Linked DNA regions of Homo sapiens: region 2 is linked to region 1. Evidence: promoter capture Hi-C in human tissues and cell types (Jung and others, 2019). All regions are on one chromosome and are shown on one strand. The core of a region is centred on a gene start or on the middle of the fragment in contact, and the rest is flanking DNA. Distances in the headings are between cores, read along the strand shown.

Evidence for each region. Contacts are between HindIII fragments. The study calls those that stand out against the background at their distance.
Region 2: a contact is called between a fragment that was not itself captured here and the fragment with the promoter of UCHL1 in region 1, in 1 of the 25 tissues and cell types used here (lymphoblastoid cells).

The regions. Positions count from the first base shown.
Region 1 is chr4:41,255,066-41,259,023 of GRCh38, reverse strand. It overlaps UCHL1 (ubiquitin C-terminal hydrolase L1), which reads right to left and starts at 2,096. Exons shown (of 9, transcript NM_004181.5): 1 at 2,015-2,096; 2 at 1,898-1,909; 3 at 1,287-1,415. The coding sequence starts at 2,047. UCHL1-DT (UCHL1 divergent transcript) reads left to right here and starts at 2,297. Exons shown (of 3, transcript NR_102709.1): 1 at 2,297-2,465. RefSeq lists an enhancer at 886-1,386 and a silencer at 1,221-1,980. The HindIII fragment of the contact is 4,741 bases long and covers 85-3,958 here.
Region 2 is chr4:42,527,464-42,531,912 of GRCh38, reverse strand. All of the region lies in intron 20 of ATP8A1 (ATPase phospholipid transporting 8A1), which reads left to right. Among named protein-coding and RNA genes, the nearest start is that of ATP8A1, 130 kb to the left of the region's middle. The HindIII fragment of the contact is 4,513 bases long and covers 1-4,064 here.

The DNA.
Region 1 (3,958 bases), core at 847-3,346:
GCACCACTGCCTCCCAGAGGCCTTGCCTCTGAATGCTGCTCAAAACCTCCGAGTCATCATGGTTGCTCTAATAAAAAACCTCTGTGTGATGCTCAACTGGAGACAGGAGACTGATTTGGTCAACCAGGAAGCTAATTCGACTTCCAACAATTTGGCATCTTCCTTTTAGCCCAAGTAAAAGACTTTAGCAATAAAAACATGTCAGTGAGATCATCTTATTAGCTGTAAATAAGTGTTTTTACCCACAATACTTAGCTTACTTACTAGGAGGAAGGCTTGGAACTTCCCATACTCTTGATTTTGGCTACAGATGCTTCCAGAACACCTAGCCTTAGGACGGTGCTTCAGTTAACCTCACTCTTTAGAGTGATGCCCCAAGTTTTGCTAAAGCTAATTTCAGTCACTCCCACATCAGCGGTCAAGTGACAGCAATAGGAGATAAGACAATGCCATGCGCTAATGACTGGGATTCCATACATCACAAGACTGCAAATATCCTAGCTATCCTTTAAAAAAAAAAATCTGACGCTGTCTTTCAGATACATCTATCCATGCACACTTGTAGGAGGAAAATCATTTCAAGGGAAATGCAAAGGTGCTTTCAAAACTGAGCTAATAACCCCCTATTTCAGTTAGCTACAAGGTCAGAGATGAACAAGGATAAGTGAAGAGGAAGGAGGTTCCCACACAGAAACCATACACAAAATGATTAAGCTTTAAGAAATACATTCAAGAGGCTAAAAACCAAGTGTGCAAGTGGTGGGAGTGGAGAAGAGAGAAGAACCCCTTAAGACCATCAGAAACCCAAGTAATGGAGGCGGAGAATTAGCGAACCTAATTGTTTCCCTGCGATTTAGGTCAGCCCTTCCCCCTCCATTCTACAGCTAGGTGGGAGTCTGAGAAGCAAACAATGAGTTGACAGGTTATAGCCCTTAAAGGGAAACCAGCAGCCATTCCCCGGAACCGGAGGCTCGAAAAAGCCCAAGTTCGAGGGAACTCATGAGTAGGATGAATGATTTCCCTGGATAACGGGATAGATGGAACTGAGATACTGCCTCTCTTCCAAATTTAAGGCAATTGTGGACGGATGGGCAAGAAGGCGACAGGCACCGCTGGAACAGGAGCCCAGGGAGTAGGTACCACGAAAATGCAGGCTCCTCCCTTCCTTGTAGGCGCGCCCCGCATCACCTACAGGGGAGGGGGCGGGGCGGGGAGCCCCCGAGGACTCAAGCTGGGGAGCGGCGTGCACTGCCGGCGGCCGGCGCATCCTGGGCCCCACGCCCTACCTGGGCCGTGAGGGGAAACAGCAGCAGCAGCGCGCAGGCAGGCGCTGGCACCGAGCCCAGAGACTCCTCTTCCAGCCCCAGCACGTCCACGAAGCGCCACTGGCCGGCGACCCCCAGCCGGGACAGCACCTGCGGAGAGGAGACAAGGCGGCCAGGCGCACGGGGACACGCGGGTCGCGGGCACCTGCCAGGGGGCGGGGCCAGGAGGCGCGCGCCCTCCGCGCCCGCACCCGAGCCTGGGAGGAGCCCCAGTCCCGCCCTGCCACCCCCACCCGGGCCGGCGCAATGACACAGCACAAAGCGCGGCCCACACGTGGCGCCCGCGAAGCCCGTGCAGCCGAGTCTGTGCTGCCCGCGCCACGCCCTCGGGAGCTCCGCCTGGCGCTCGCTCGCCACGGGGCGCAGCCCCCTCCGTCTCCCCGTGACCGGTTTCGTAGAGTCACCCGCTAAATGCAGGGGCCCAGGAAAGGCGCCCAGCCCACGCCCCAGCCCGGCCGTCTCCGGTGCTCGCAGCGGGCGGCTTGGTCCCTGCCAGCAGCCGGAACCGGTGGGCGCCCCCGCCTCGGCGCTCGCGGGGGAGGGGGCCAGAGACGGCGCGAGACGCCACTCACTTTGTTCAGCATCTGAAAGGCAAATGCAAAGAAAAAGGCAAAACCGAACCGATCAGCGACTCGGCTCCCCCTCCCTCGGCCTCGCGCTCTCCGGGTAGCGGTGCACCTGGCGCTCACCTCGGGGTTGATCTCCATCGGCTTGAGCTGCATCTTCGCGGAGCGCCCGGCAGAAATAGCCTAGGGAAGACGAAAAACAGCTAGCGGAGCCGCCCAGGCTGCAGCTATAAAGCGCCGGCCAGACGCACTGTGAGGCCTGTGCAGGGGGAGCAGGGGCAGAACCAAGCGAGGGGGAAACGGACGGTCGCGGCCAGATGGGTACGAACCCCCCGTGCGCAGCGCGGAGTGGTACGGCCGGGCCCCCAAACCTTGCAGTCTCACTCGCCGGTGAGATAATCTGGTGGTTGTGGAGACGGGATTTGTTGGTGGGTGTTCCTTGAGTGTATGGAGCAGTCCTTTTGATGGAGTCTTTAATTTTGGGCGAAGTTTCTGGAAACCCATCCTTTCACCATCCCAATTACTCTAAAGCTCGAGTCTCTGAAGCATTTGAGAAAAAGCACAAATTCAACAGGTATATATTTAATACGAATGAATGTAAATGTGTGCCCCCCGCCCCAAATCTCTCAGCAGTTTGCGTTTAACCTTAGACAATTCCTCCTCCATGTTAAGTCAGACCAGTACCGAGGTTCGTTTTTAAGTGACTACCTAGAATAAAACAGAATCTGGTAGATAACAGATACTGCATTAGGAATGCTGATGTAATGTGACTCCCGCGGAAGAAATGGTTGGTCCTGGGAGAGCAGTAGAAAGCTGGGGGATGTGAGGGTAATACAAGACACAAAGAAGGCAGGCGATTGGAGACTTGAGAAAACAGATCCAGGGAAAAGATGGGTATGATTTTGAGCGAGAGGCTGTAAAAGGAAAAGCATTTTTAAAAGAATGGGAAGCTTTGAAAAATAAAATGTCTGAGTTCACCGCAGAATACTCCCAATGAAGAAGAAAGGGAATGGCAACCAAGGAAACCACTGTTCTCTAATGATCTCAGGTGATCTCTAATGATCTCTAGTCAAAAGATGGAGAGAGAAAGCATTTGCTGAAGAATGAATTTTAAAAGGGACCAAAATCTATAAGAATTGTGCCAGGAAAGCTAAGCTGCAGAACAAAGTGGGCTTGCAGAAATACTTAGGTAGCGAAGGAAGCAAGAAGGTTGAGTATTTTTTAAAAATAGGCACCGAAGAGAATAATGATGATGGTAAAAGAATAGACCTTCTATTTAGGAAGTTGAGGTTAACAGATGACAGAGGGAAGGGAGGGAATCAACATTTTTTGAGTTATTGTTTTTGGGGATCCTTTGCATGTGTCTCTCATTTAATCCTTAGAGGAGCCGTGAAGAGACTCATATTAGTGCAATTTTACAGATCAGAATCCCAGGCCTAGAGAAGTTAATTTGCTTACGGTCACAATTGAAAAGTAAAACTGAGAAGTAAACCCTGCTAAACTGGGCTCCAAGAGCCCATTCTTTATCTAAGATTCCACAACATTCTACTTCTATTTTCTTTCCATTTTTGCCATTAGAAAATGACCTTCACACACAAAAATGAGAGAGAAAAAAATTAGTAAGAGGAGCTTAATGGGTGAATCTTATGGTATGTAAATTTTCCCTCAATAAGGTTGTTAAAGAAAAAAAGAGGTGAAGGTCAAGACAAGTGACTAGGTTATATTGAATGAGTTCTTGCCTTTAGACAAAGACAAATTACATTTCCAATTTACTTCATTTATTCATTCACTCAACAAATATTAAGAACCTACTGTGTGCTGGGTGCCGAGCTTGGAAAGTTTGGAATTAGGCATACAAAGATGAACACAATAAACATGGAAATTTCCCTCATGCCGTTTTTTTGTTTGTTTGTTTTGTTTGTTTTGTTTTGAGACGGAGTCTCGCTCTGTCGCCCAAGCTGGAGTGCAGTGGCGCGATCTCGGCTCACTGCAAGCTCCGCCTCCCCGGTTCACGCCATTCTCCTGCCTCAGCCTCCGGAGTAGCTGGGACTACAGGCGCCCGCCACC
Region 2 (4,449 bases), core at 559-3,058, 1.3 Mb before region 1:
GCTCAGGCAGGTCTTGAATGCCTACCTCAGCCTCCCAAACTGCTAGGATTACAGGTGTGAGCCACCGCACCTGGCCCTGGTATTTTATGTTTTTTATGACTGTTGTAAATGGGATTGGCTTTTTTCTTTCTCATCTAGATATTGTTGGTATATAGAAGTGCTACTGATTTTTGTACATTGATTTTGTATCCTGCAACTTGACTGAATTCATTTATTAAAATTTAAGTTTTTTGTTAGAGTCTTCAGTTTTTTGCAGATATAAGATATGTCATCAGCAAAGAGGAACAATTTGACTTCCTCTTTTCCAATTTGTATTCCTTTTATTTTTTTCTCTTGTTGATTGCTCTGGCCTTGACTTCCAGTACTATTTTGAATAGCTGTGAAGAAAGAGGGCTTCCTCATCTTGTTCCAGTTCTTGGAGGAAAGCTTTCAGCTTTTCCCTTTTCAATATGATGTTAGCTGGGGAATTGGTGAGGAAATACTCATGACAGTTACAGTCTTTGTTTCTGCAGCTGGTCATGTAGTCGTAACTGGTATTGTTGACTGCCCTCTTCTGCTACCCATTCTGTTTTCCCTTTGCCTTCAGCAAGCACCTCAGCAGGTTGTGGTTTTTTTCCTGGTGGAGTGACCCAAACCTTCATTCCTGAAGGGTCTGGACCATTTGTAGTCCTGCCTGGATTGGGCTGTTGTAGTTTCCCATTGACCTTAATCACAGGGCATGGTAATACTAAGAGTCGCCCTAATGGATTCGCTGTATTCCGTACATACTCTTCCCTACCTCTGTTATGGAGCAGTAGACTGATTTCATCTTGGTAGTCTGGGTCAGTCACCCCAGCCAACACTGTAACTCCCTTAGCCTGTTGACTTAAAGGTAGGAGGAGCCCAAAGTGTCCAGGTGGCAATCTTAACTTCCAGTTTAATTGAATCATTGTTGTGTCTCCTGATAACAGTGTTCCTCCCTCTGGAACTAAGACCTCTAGGCCAGCAGAACATAATGTCGCAGGAACAGGAAGCAAAAATGTTGCTAGTGGATCACTAGGAGTGATGGTGAGTGGTGCCACTTCCACTTCCACCCCTTGATTCCTGGACCCCTGAATCCTGGCTATGGGAGAAACAGTACCATATATTGGATGCTGATTCAGAGCATACACGGCCTTCTGGAGAACTTTGCTCCGGCCCTGCAAAGTGTTGTCACCTAGTTGGCACTGTAATTGTAACTCAAAAGGCCATTCCACCCTTCTATCAATCTAGCTGCTTCAGGATGATGGGAACATGGTAAGACCAGTGAGTTCCATGGTAAGACCAGTGAGCCCACTGCCACACGTCTTTAGCCATAAAGTGAGTGCCTTGGCCAGAGGCAGTGCTGTGTGGAATACTGTGACAGTGGATGCATGAGCCCACTGCCACACTTCTTTAGTAAGTGCCTTGGTCAGAGGCAGTACTGTGTGGAAGATCTTGAGTCCACAGATGGTAGTCTTGGCAGAAGCACTGCGTGCAGGATAGGCAAACCCATATCCAGAGTAAGTGTCTGTTCCAGTGAGGATAAACCTCTGCCCTTTTCATGATGCAAAAATCTGCCACCAGGTGGCTGGCTGATCACCCCAAGGAATGGTGCCATATCAAGGGCTCAGTGCTGGTCTCTGCGGCTGGCAAATTGGGCACTCAGCAGTGGCCATAGCCAGGTCATCCTTGGTGAGTAGAAGTCCATGTTGCTGAGCCCATGCGTAACCTCCATCCTTGCCACCATGGCCACTTTGTTCATGGGCCCATTGGGTAATGACAGGGGTGGCTGGGGAAAGAGGCTGAGTGGTGTCCACAGAACAGTTCATCCTATCCACTTGATTATTAAACTCCTCCTCTGCTGAGATTACCCGTTGGTGAGCACTCACATGGGATACAAATATCTTCACGGTTTTTGACCACTCAGAGGTCCATCCACATACTTCTTCCCCAGATTTCTTTGTCACCAATTTTCCAGTCATGCTTCTTCCAAGTCCCTGACCATCCAGCCAAACCATTGGCTACAGCCCATGAATCAGTATATAATCACACATCTGGCCATTTCTCTTTCCATGCAAAGTGCACAACCAGCTGCACTGCTTGAAGTGCTGCCCACCGGGAAGATTTCACCTCACCACTGTCCCTCAGGGATGTCCTAGAAAGGGGCTGTCGTGCTTCAGCTGTCTACTTTCGGGTAGTGCCTGCATATCGTGCAGAACCATCTGTGAACCAGGCCCTAGTCTTCTCTTCCTCTGTCAACTGGATCATAGGGAACTCCCCATGAGGCCATCGGTGCAGGCTGGGGAAGAGAAGGCACAGTGGTAGGAGTGGAGACCATGGGCATTTGAGGCACTTCCTCACATAACTTACTTGTGCCTTCAGGACCTGCTCAAGCCTGATCACGTATATACCACTTCAATTTGATGATGCAGTGCTGCTGGTGCATGACCCACTTGATGGCTAGATGGGTCAGAAAGTACCCAGTTCATGATACGCAGTTCAGGTCGCATCGTGACTTGATGACCCATGGTCAAATGTTCAGTTTCCACCAAAGCCCAGTAACAAGCCAAGAGCTGTCTCTCAAAAGGAGAGTAGTTACCTGCAGATTATGGCAGGGCCTTGCTCCAAAATCCTAGATGCCTCCACTGTGATTCACCTATGGGGGCCTGCCAAAGGCTCCAAACAGCATCCCCGTCTGCCACTGACACCTCAAATACCATTGAATCTGCTAGGTCATATGGACCAAGTGGCAGAGCAGCTTGTACAGCAGCCTGGACCTGTGTCCGTTCTGGACCCCACTCAAAACTGGGGTCCAGTGGCCTTTAGGGTCACTTGATAAATGGGCCAGAGTAACACACCTAGATAAGGAATGTGATGCCTCCAAAATCCACATAAGCCCACTAGGCATTGTGCCTCTCATTGTAGGAGGGGCCAAATGCAACAACTTATCCTTCACCTTAGAAGGAATATCTCAACAGCCCCCACACCACTGGACCCCTAGAAATTTTACTGGGGTAGAAGGTCCCTTAATTTTAGTCAGGTTTATTTCCCATCCTCTGGCACACAAATATCTCACCAATAAGTCCAGTGTGTTTGCTACTTCTTGCTCACTGGATCCAATCAGCATAATGTCATCAGTGTGATGGACCAGTGTGATATCTTGTGGAAGTGAAAAGCAATCAAGGTCTCACTGAATAAGATCATGACACAAAGCAGGAGAGTTGATATGCCCCTGGGGTAGGACAGTAAAGGTATGTTGAAGGCAAATTGCTTGGTGGGCCTTATAGGCAGGAGTGGAGAAAAAGGAATTTGCCAAGTCGGTGGTTGCATACCAGATACCAGGAGATGTGTTAATATGCTCAAGCAATGAAACCACATCTGGTACAGCAGCTACAATTGGAGTCACCACTTGGTTAAACTTCTGATAATCCACTGTCATTCCCCAAGATCCATGTGTCTTCTGCACAGGCCAGATGGGAGAGTTGAATGGGGATGTGGTGGGAATCACCACCCCTGCGTCTTTCAAGTCCTTGATGGTGGCACTAATCTCTGTAATCCCTCCAGGGATGTGATATTGTTTTTGATTTACTATTTTTCTAGGGAGAGGCAGCTCTCATGGCTTCCATTTGGCCTTTCCCACCGTAATAGCCCTCACCCTACCAGTCAGGGAGCCAATGTGGGGATCCTGCCAGTTGCTAAGTATGTCTATGCCAATTATGCATTCTGGCATCAGGGAAATGACCACAGGATGAGCCCGGAGACCCACTGGACCCACTGCAAGTCAGACCTGAGCTAAAACTCCATTAATTACCTGACCACCATAAACCCCTATTTTAACTGGAGGACCACAATGACATTTTGGGTCCCCTGGAATCATCACCAGCTCAGAGCCAGTGTCCAGTAGTCCCCAAAATGTCTGATCATTTCCCTTTCCCCAGTGCAAAGTTACCCTGGTAAAAGGCCAGAGGTCTCTCTGGGGAAGGATGGGAGAAGGATTAACAGCATAAATTGTCGGTTATGTAGTGGAGTCCTTCCTCTAGGGTACCCAGCCTCCCCTTCATTCAAGGGGTTCTGGGTCTATAAACTGGCTCAAGTTTGGAAATTGATTGAGGGACTGTGATTCTCTGTTTTTGTAACTCAAAATTAGTCTTTTATCCATTCGACCTAGAAGTTTTCTGCTTATATAAATTTGAAAACTCAGGCAATTCCTTTTGAGTGTAGTGCATCTCCTCATGAGTCACACTCTCATCCTCACGTCTAGGGACTCGCTGGGACTTTAGTCTAGTTATAGGTCTAGAAGCAAACAGGGGTGTTGGGGGTGGGTCCAGAAGAGAATCAACATCATCTTGCCTGGCAACTGCTTCAGGGGAGGCCATCGTTGTTACCTCAGGCAGCACAGGCTTTATCTCCTCAGACAAAAGTGGAAAGGCTGATGGCAACATGGTTCAG